Regions from separate parts of the Homo sapiens genome. Here regions 1 and 2 are each linked to region 3. The links are contacts of gene promoters, found by promoter capture Hi-C in blood cells and fetal thymus (Javierre and others, 2016). All regions are on one chromosome and are shown on one strand. Each heading gives the region's core, a stretch centred on a gene start or on the middle of the fragment in contact. The rest is flanking DNA. Distances are from core to core; before and after follow the strand shown. Region 1 holds the start of DECR1 (2,4-dienoyl-CoA reductase 1). Region 2 holds the start of ZNF706 (zinc finger protein 706). Region 3 holds the start of CFAP418-AS1 (CFAP418 antisense RNA 1).

Region 1 (3,063 bases), core at 440-2,939, 5.3 Mb after region 3:
GGAATTCAAACTTGAGGCTACATGTGCTAGGAAGGGGACAAACCACACTAACAGGTACCTCTCTTGCCTCCCAACCCTGAACCTCAAAACTTCCATATTTTTCTTCAGCAAAGGAATTTCAAAATTGTCAGATTACAATTAATTTTTAAATGAGTTCATTTTCTCCTTCTCAAACTGTATTGTCTAATGGTGTCAGAAGAGCTTGGATAAGGTCTGTATGACCTTATTGCTACAATCCTAATGATGTGTGTTAAAAAATGAAATCTCTGAAGACATCACAGAGCTGTTGTAGATTTCAAATGAGAAATGTCTCTGAAAAGTATCAGAAAATATGGGCTTCCTTTATAATGATCTATAACCCAGTTTTCACAGGGAGAGAAAAAAAATCAGCAAAACCCTAACCCTGAACAAATCTCACTTTTTAAAAGAAAGATACCTTACTTGAGGGAACCACCATACTAATTCTTTGTATTCCTATTTGGAACTACTGCTGCCCATATTTTTTGAAAAACAACACCATGGCTGTCTATTCTATCAAATCAAAAGAAGTTTTTTCACAGTTGACATATTAATTTTTCTACCTGGCTAAAGAAAATGTGCTTTTTAGTTTACTTATAACAATTTTGTAATTTAGATGTGGGGAGGGCTTGTCTTGGATATTATTGCTTCTTTTTGTTTTTGTTTCTCTTTCTTCTTCCTAGCTGTTTTCACTTCCTAGCTATTTCCACTATGGGTGCAATGGAGATGGTGACAGGAGTGTGGGCCAGAGAGAGGGGGAAGCCAGTGTGAGACGGACCTCTCCCAGCTATACATCTGGGAAGGGGAGTCTATAAACAGCTGGGGTTTTGTTTTTGTTTCATTTTTATGATAATTTGTTTGTATTAGTGTTTAATTCCATAACTAACACATAGATGGACTTTCCTCACAACAAAGGACGTCAAAGGTCAGTGCTCGCTCGGCCTGATCCCCTCTCACTCCTTAAGGGGTGGACGGGCGCCGTATCCTTCCCTACCTCTTTCTACCTATTTACACACAAGTTGGAAACTTGCAGAACTGTGAAAACTTCGAAAATCACGTCTCTTCCCTATTCCCCTACACACATCAGGGCTTCATCTGACAGTGGAATACGACCCGGGCCCCGGTGCTCACTCCCGGCGTTGCCCTTCGCTCCGGGACCTGGTGGTCCTCTCTCTCTGCGCCCCAAAACGCCCTGTCCTAGCTCCCTGAGCCCCAGGGACGCCGGGTCCTCTCTTTGTGCCCCAAGACTTCCTGCCCTTTCTCTTGCGCCCCGAGACGTCCTGTCCTCTCTCTCGCTCCCCGGGTTGCTCTGTGCTCTCTTAGCGCTCCAGAACGCCCTGTCCTCTCTCTTTGAGCCCCGGGACACCCTGTCCTCGCTCCCCGAGGCCCCGGGACGCCCTGTCCTCTCTCTCTCTGCGCCTCGGGATGCCCTGTCCTCGCTCCCCGAACCCCCGGGACGCCCTGTCCTCTCTCTTTGCGCCCCAGGATGCCTTGTCCTCGCTCCCCGAGCCCCCGTGACGCCCTGTCCTCTCTCTTTGCGCGTCGAGACGCCCTGTCCTCGCTCCCCGCGCCCCCGGCCGCCTTACCCTCCGAGGAGCGAGGCCACAGGGCAGCCGGGACCCCAGAGTAAAGAAAACCCTGGCCGGTAGCTTCATGTTGAGTCTCCAGAACTCGGGCCGGAAGGCGGCGCAGGCGGTTGGGCGCAGGGGGCGGGACAAAAAGAACAAAGTTCTCGGGGCTGGAAACGCTGCCTAGGCCGCCGGGGGATGGGACGGGGACTGGGACCCAGGCGGCGTGGACGCCCAGCGGCCCTGACCTTCAGAGTCCGGCCGAGGGCGCCGCCTAGCTGGGCCTAGCTGATGCTCTTTCCTGCTCTCTGGGCCAGGAGTGCTTTGTATGGCAGAGAATGGAGGTTCTTTGCGTCCTTGAGCGGGTGTACGAAACCCCGCGCCCTGCAAGGGTTTGCAGATTGCAGCTGCGCACCCCATACACTGCCTATCAAGGGCGAAACTCTTTTTCAGTCGTATGTGTTTATCCCTTAAGTGCGTGTTTAAGTGCAGAGTGCGCGTGGCGCCAAGTCACATATTATCAGAATAATAATATGTTGGATGTAAAACACGGCCTCACTTTCCCTAAGACCAAGAGGCTGAAAAACACTAAGGGCAGCTTCCGGCGTTTTGACTTTTCGCAGGACACACCGCCCCCTGTCGCCGGATGCAGCGTGACTGCGACCGCCCAGCCTTGGCTTTTTTCTCGAAGTTAAACACACGTTAAAGGCAAACACAGATTCAGTATATCATTCTCCATCTTAGTGTAATATACCTGTTGACACAAGGCATTAGCTCAGATCACATTTCTTTCCTCATTCGTAAAATGAGAATATTCATAGCTAATTCAGAATTTTAGATAAAAGAAGATGGGTGTGAGGCCCCAGGCTGAGGCTGATGGTAGATGATATTGAGTGTTTACTATTTGCCTGGCATGTTCCAAATGCTGATAAAGAAACATTTATATCTTCAGAGGAATGTACACTTACATGTAGACATATAGCTTATAAGGTATATAAACTCTGAAAAACTTTGTAATTTTGAGTTGGTCTGGTGATAATTTCCAGGCCTTCTGCCTGTAACTGGTTACAGAAATAAAAACTTTCTTCATCCCCAGTTCATCGACATCTCATTATTGGCAGCAAGAAATAGCAGCCTGACCCTCAGTTTGGTCCAGGAACAAAACTACCACAGATTGGGTGGCTTAAATGGAAATTTGTTTTCTCACAATTCTGGAGGCCACAAGTCAGCAGAGTTGGTTTCTTGTGGAGCCACTGTGGGACCATCTTCTCCCTGTGTCTTTACATGATCCTCCTGTGTACCTTTCCATATCTAAATTGCCTCTTCTTATGAGGACACCAGTCGTGTTGGATTAAGGCCCACCCTCAATGACCTAATTTAACTGGAATTACCTCCCTAAAGACTCTATCTCCAAATATAGCCACATTCTGACATACTGGGGGTTAAGAGTTCAATGTATATATTTGGCTGGGAGAAG
Region 2 (2,998 bases), core at 186-2,685, 5.9 Mb before region 3:
TGTGGTATCTATAGCCCAGTCCAAGTCATTTGGGATATACTAATATTCAGCCAACATTTCCTGGGCACTGCCACGCAAACTTGGGAAACGGCACTACAGGCAAGGTGAGAACAGCCAATGCAAACACTTTTTTTTTTTCTCCTTTGTCACTAGTAGTTCTAATTAGAAACGAATGTGGCGGGGGTCGGGGGTAAGTATGCACAATAAAGCTGATGTCTAAAGTACTGTTTCCAGATATTCAGCAATTTTAATCATGGTTATAATCGCCATTGCTCTTGTCAGATATTGAAAGTTTGCTGCCACTGCCTGTAAATGGAGAGAGAGCGCGCGCAAAGAACTTTAACCATTCCCCGAAGGATTAGCAACTCAGTACCGTATATTGTTAGCAGTCAAACTAAACCCCTCCGGGAAGCCTGGCCAGCAATTTTTTTTTCTTTTTTTGTTTTTTTTTTTTTTTAGGCAGGGTCTCACTCAGTCGCCCAGGATGGAGTGCAATGGCGCGATCTCGGCTTACCGCAACCTTCACCTCCCGGCCTCAAGCGATTCTCCCACCTCAGCCTCCCGAGTAGCTGGGACTACAGGCGCGGGCCACCATGCTCCACTATTTATTTTATTTTATTTTATTTTTGTGGAGACGTGGGTCTCGCTATGTACTCAGGCTGGTCTGGAACTCCTGGGCTCAAGTGATCCTCCTGCCTTGGGCTCCCAAAGCGCTGAGATTACAGGCGTGAGCCACCGCGCCCGGCCTAGCCAGCAATTTTTAATACGACTTAGGCTTGAATCTTGAACTCACTAAAAGCCCCCAGCTTGGGAAAACACCTGGGGTTTCCATGGGAGTGAGGTAAAGGGCGGCTGTGAAAGAACAAAGGCTGTGCGTCCGCGTTCAGAGCCGCTGGGTCCGCCGGGCTCGCTGGGGGCCGGGGCCGCGGTGTCCTGGGTGGCGGGGCTCCGGGAATGTGACTCAGCCACCGCGGCCCCGCGATCCGCTCCCGGGCCAGCGCCTCAGTCGGTGCCGAGGAGGGCGGCGCCGAGACGGGCGCGTCAGCCTGGGAGGAGCGGGAAAAGGGTCGCAGCGCCTGAGGCCCGGCCGCCGCCCGAGTGGATGAGCGAGCGAGCGACTTGTGAAACACGCCGCGGCCCGGTCACCAACCAGGACCGGGATCACGTGGCTCCCAGGGCTGGGTGAAGAAGCCGCCCGGACCGAGCGCGCCGGAGAGGAGGGGCGCCTGGGGACAGAAGGCGACGTCCCCTGAAGTTTGTGTCAGCCAGGGCCCGCCCCCTCGCGCTTATGTAATAGGGGCGCGCTGCCATTGGCCCGCGCGACCAGCCAGGGCGCAGGCGTGCGAGCGGGGTGGGGGCCAGAAGGAGGCAGCCGCAGAAAGGCACATGGGCGGGGCTGCGAGGAGCAGGCGGGGCGGGGGCGCCGAGGAGAGCGGCGCGGCGTGCGCGGGCACGAGGCGTAGTGGTCTCCCCTAAGGCTGAGGCGGCGGCGGGCGCGCGGCGGCGGCGGGCGTGCGAGGCTGTTGTGCTCCCGGCTCTCGTGTTTCCCCTCCTGAGCGGGTGGAGGAGGCCCAAGCGGTGCTGGGCGCGCTCCCCCTTCCTTTCCCTCCGGCGTCCTCTCCCGGCCCTCTCGCGCTGCACTGTCTCTCCGACGCAAGACTGTCCCGGCCCGGGTGAGCGGCAGCGGGGGCGGTGCTGACGCCGCGGGACGCCCGGGAAACGGGGCGGGGGCCGGCCAGCGGGGGGCGGTGGGGACCGTGGGACTCGCCGCGGGTCGCGAGGGGTCGCGGGGGGCGGCAGGGCCCGGCCCGGGGCGGGCCGCGGGAAGGGGATGAGTTCGGGCGCCTGCCAGGCCCTGCAGGTGGCCGGGTCGCAGGCCAGCCGCGGAAGCGGAGCGGTAACCTTACCCCCGGCGACAGCCGCCGGTCAGCTGCCAGAGTGTGGCGCTCCCGGTGGACGCAGGGGCCGGGTTTCGGGCAGTCTCGGCCTCCAGGAGGCGCGTCTTGGTCCAGGGTCCGTGAGGACTGGCTAGATGGGGGCTGCGTGGCCTTTGGTGGCAGGGAGGAGGAGGGGGTCTCCGAGGCGGGAGAGGCGGGTTTGGGAAGGAAGGTGCGCCAGGCTGAAGCTGGGGTCGGAGAAGTGTTGGGTGGAGACCTCACTGTGGGTGCGTTCCTCCTCTCCTCTCCCCAAAACGATGGTGTTAAAAGCTAGGGTCAGGATGTGGAGCGCTGCCTGGGCCTCTTCCTTTCCGATGGTTATGGAGAATGAGCCTACTTCCTGGACCCAAAATCCTTTTCTTCTGTTACTCATTTATGTTGGTTTTAAAAGGAGCTTTGGGGCAGAGCTTACTTGTTGCCTCCTACGAGAGCGCCTCATTTTAGAACTCGTTTCTTCCACTACTTCCCTCTTTGCAGCCCCCTCGGAAAACCACACTGAGAGTTGCATTAAAAACCAGCATGTAGGTATTTGTAAGTGACTTTTTCCCTCCAGTTTGTCGCATTTAATCAAGGAGCGGTTGTAGCTGCCTACGATTTTGTAGAAAATTGTGTTGGCTTGAGAGCAAGTCCTAAGTTGAGCTGTCCAAAAGCAGGTGGTTGGTTCGTTTGAATTTCTGCTTTCAGAAAGGAAATCGATGGGGCGTGTTGTCAGAAGTTAGGGGCCTACCTCATGCATTTAGCTTATTTTATTCCATTTCCTTTACCTGGTGTTAAGTTTTCTGTCTTCAGAATAAGAACAAGTGACTACTGTCTTTATTAAGTCTCTTCGGTCTTTTTGGTTGCTGTTTGGTGACAATGGAAAATGGGTTGAATCTATTGTGTAATGTTATATTTTAGGGAAAGTCCTAAGTGCAAAAGTTAAAAATAATTTTGTGTGTCTAATGACATTGCTTTGTACGAGTCACAACATGGAAATATCAAAATAGCTAGTAACTTCTAGAAAGCAAAGGAACTTCTGAAATTAGTGGCTTACCATTTTTGAAGATTTTTTTTAACATAAA
Region 3 (2,888 bases), core at 279-2,778:
ACCTCTTTGCTACCCCACTTTAGAAATACCCAAAACACAGGTTAAACTATGCACAGTATTTATTAAGAATGCCATTTACAATACCTTACACTTGTATCACGCTTTACACTTTTCAAAGTAGTGCTTTTATGGCACGGTGGGACTGTCTGACCCTGCAGAGTGAATTTAAATCGCTGGGTAATAGCTTTTTAATGTATAATGGGTGAAAAGATAGTCCTGGGAGCCGTTTGTCAAAGAGAAAGGCGAAGGAGTGGAACTGGCAGCCCCACAAGGAAGTCGGGAAGCTGGTTGGCCCCTACCCGGTTCCTGGTTCTCTCCTGGAAATGGCTCCAACATTGTGCAAGCAAGTGGGTGTGCAATAGTTTTGAGCACGCATCTCTCTCTCTGTCTCTCTCTCTCTCTCTCTCGGATTTAATTAGAATTTCCGTTTTTTCCAACAAAGAGTTGGACGGGATACGTTCTAAGACTTTTACAAACTGTAAAATGATGAGCGAGGTAACATTCAAATATGCTCTTAACAGAACAGCTCAGTAATGGTTTCCTCCACATCAAAACGTGCCTATTGCTGCAGCAGACGCTTATGCAGAGTCTACATGCACTCTCACCGCAAAAATTCACACAGCCAGTAGTCGTGGCCGAGTGGTTAAGGCGATGGACTAGAAATCCATTGGGGTCTCCCCGCGCAGGTTCGAATCCTGCCGACTACGGGAATGTCAGCTTTTTGCCGTCAACACTTACTTTTTGTGTTTTAGAGCGTTCTGCTCAAACCTTCCACAGATTTCAGGAATTTACAAACGGCTGAAACACAACAGGGACCCAAACGGGAGAGGAGAGAATGAAGGGGCGAGAATGCGTGCTTGTGGTTACAACGTGGGCCCGGGAGGGGGAGACGGGAGGAACCACGCCAGACATGCTGAAAGGAAGAAACGCAAAGCATCGCGAGTCACACAGACACACTGCAGAGACAGCTCCGAACTCTGTCCCTGCATACGCCCGCCCCTCACGAACCCACCGCGTTCTCTGCCGCGAGCCCTCGTGGGCGCCGGGTTGCCACGGGAAGCGGTGCGCATGCGCGGGGACGCCTAACGGGGCAGGAGCCCGCCAGGTCCCCTCGTTACTCCTGGAAACCACCGGAGCCTTGGCGATTGGAGGGGAAAAGGCCAGGCGATTCAAGATGGCGGAGGACCTGGACGAGCTCTTGGATGAAGTCGAGTCCAAGTTTTGCACACCTGACCTTCTAAGACGGGGTATGGTCGAGCAGCCCAAAGGCTGCGGCGGCGGCACCCACAGTAGCGACCGGAACCAAGCCAAGGCGAAAGAGACGCTCAGGTTAACCGGGCGGGAGGGGTGGACTGTTCTGGTAAAGCCCTGCTCCAGGCCCTAGAGCTGCCCCTCCGCCGCCCAACCCAAAAGAAACGTGCCCGCGACCTCCAGCCCCTCCTTGCATCAGGGTTCAGACCCTCAGCGCCCTACCCTCCGCGGCAGCGCATTCGTCGACCCTCTTCGCGGATTCTGGCACCTCTTCACTCAGCGCAGACTCCGCCCCCCGGCATGCCCCAGAGGGCTGGCCCCCGCCCCGCCCCGCCCCGCCCCGCCCCGCCCCGCCCCGCCCGCAGAGCCCGCAGTCCGCGCCAGTCTCCTTCATCCTGTTTCTGGCTGCCAGCGCGTAGGAGGTTCTAGTCGGGGACCGGGATACCCCTCAGGCGCCCCGTTCTTAACCCCGAGAGGGCTGTGCTGACCTCGGCCGCATTTTGCCTCTGTGTGGCCAAGCGGTTCTCATCTCCCTGTGAGGTGCCCTGTTAGACAGCCTCATCCCATTGCCTCAGACCCCACTCCCCAGGTCAATCCTATTTGTCTTTAGCTCAGTTTTGTTGTTTTGTTTGTTTTTTGAGATGGAGTCTCGCTCTGTCGCCCAGGTTGGAGTGCAGTGGCACGATCGTAGCTCACTGCAGCCTCCAACTCCCGGGTTCAAAGATCCTCCCACCTCGGCCTACCCTAGCTGGGATTACAGGCACGAGCCTGTAATCTGGGATTACGTAAACTGGGATTACAGGCACGAGCCCGGTTAATTTGTATTTTTTGTAGAGACAGTCTCACTGTGTTGGCCAGGCTGGTCTTGAACTCCTGAGTTCAAGCTGTCCTCCCGCCTCTGCCTCCCCTAACTGCTAGGATTACAGTTGCGAGCCATCGCACCTGACTCAGTTTGTTTTATTTTTTTAACTCAGGGAGTTAAGATGAGATTAAATTCATTACAAAAGGGTTAATTATTGTGAACATTAAACCGTCTACCTTCCTTCTCTCCATGGCCCCCTAGTTAAGGGTGCCAGACATACATATGGAAATTTAAGGACATTTCTTAAGGTATTTTGGTTTTTTATCTAAAAACTACCTTTCAAATTTACCAGTCGTTTTTCCTCCATGTAATTATTAAATAATAGGATTTCCTTCACTTCCTCATTTCCCCCACAACCCCTCAAAAAAAAAAAACAAAATGTTTGCATAAGAATATTGACCTTCAGTAACTCTTGCTAGAATCTTTTGGAAATTGCCTCTTGCCTAGAATATTTTGGAAACGCTTGTGAAATTACACGGAGGCAACTTTGGATCAATCTAAGAACGTCATCTCCGTTAATTTTTTTGCTGCATCTTTGGTTTGGTTTTGGTTTTTTGGTGTGTGTATGTGTGATTTCCCAAAGTATTATCCAACTCTGTTACTATCCAGTTCACCTGGCTTACCTCCAGTGATATTTATTTATTTTATTTACTTATTTATTTATTTTTGAGTTTCGCTCTGTCGCCCAGGCTGGAGTGCAGTGGCCCACCTCAGCTCACTGCAAGCTCCGCCTCCCATTCCCCTGCCTCAGCCTCCCGAGTAGCTGAGACTACAG

Evidence for each region. Contacts are between HindIII fragments. The CHiCAGO score rates a contact against its expected background, and 5 or more counts as called.
Region 1: the fragment with the promoter of DECR1 here is called in contact with the fragment with the promoter of CFAP418-AS1 in region 3 in 1 of 17 cell types (M0 macrophages); the score reaches 7.1 in M0 macrophages.
Region 2: a contact is called between the fragment with the promoter of ZNF706 here and the fragment with the promoter of CFAP418-AS1 in region 3, in 1 of 17 cell types (neutrophils). The highest score is 7.8, in neutrophils.

What each region holds. Positions count from the first base shown.
Region 1 is chr8:90,000,103-90,003,165 of GRCh38, reverse strand. DECR1 (2,4-dienoyl-CoA reductase 1) reads right to left here and starts at 1,689. Exons shown (of 10, transcript NM_001359.2): 1 at 1,605-1,689. The coding sequence starts at 1,673. RefSeq lists enhancers at 1,063-1,202, 2,051-2,345 and a silencer at 1,673-1,772. The HindIII fragment of the contact is 6,361 bases long and covers 1-3,063 here.
Region 2 is chr8:101,204,110-101,207,107 of GRCh38, reverse strand. ZNF706 (zinc finger protein 706) reads left to right here and starts at 1,435. Exons shown (of 4, transcript NM_016096.5): 1 at 1,435-1,673. RefSeq lists silencers at 871-1,090, 1,301-1,900. The HindIII fragment of the contact is 4,829 bases long and covers 1-2,998 here.
Region 3 is chr8:95,267,476-95,270,363 of GRCh38, reverse strand. CFAP418-AS1 (CFAP418 antisense RNA 1) reads right to left here and starts at 1,528. Exons shown (of 4, transcript NR_038209.1): 1 at 1,474-1,528. It overlaps CFAP418 (cilia and flagella associated protein 418), which reads left to right and starts at 1,163. Exons shown (of 6, transcript NM_177965.4): 1 at 1,163-1,329. The coding sequence starts at 1,175. It overlaps TRS-AGA2-5 (tRNA-Ser (anticodon AGA) 2-5), which reads left to right and starts at 626; the gene lies at 626-707. RefSeq lists enhancers at 422-501, 538-1,177, 1,132-1,571. The HindIII fragment of the contact is 4,678 bases long and covers 1-2,888 here.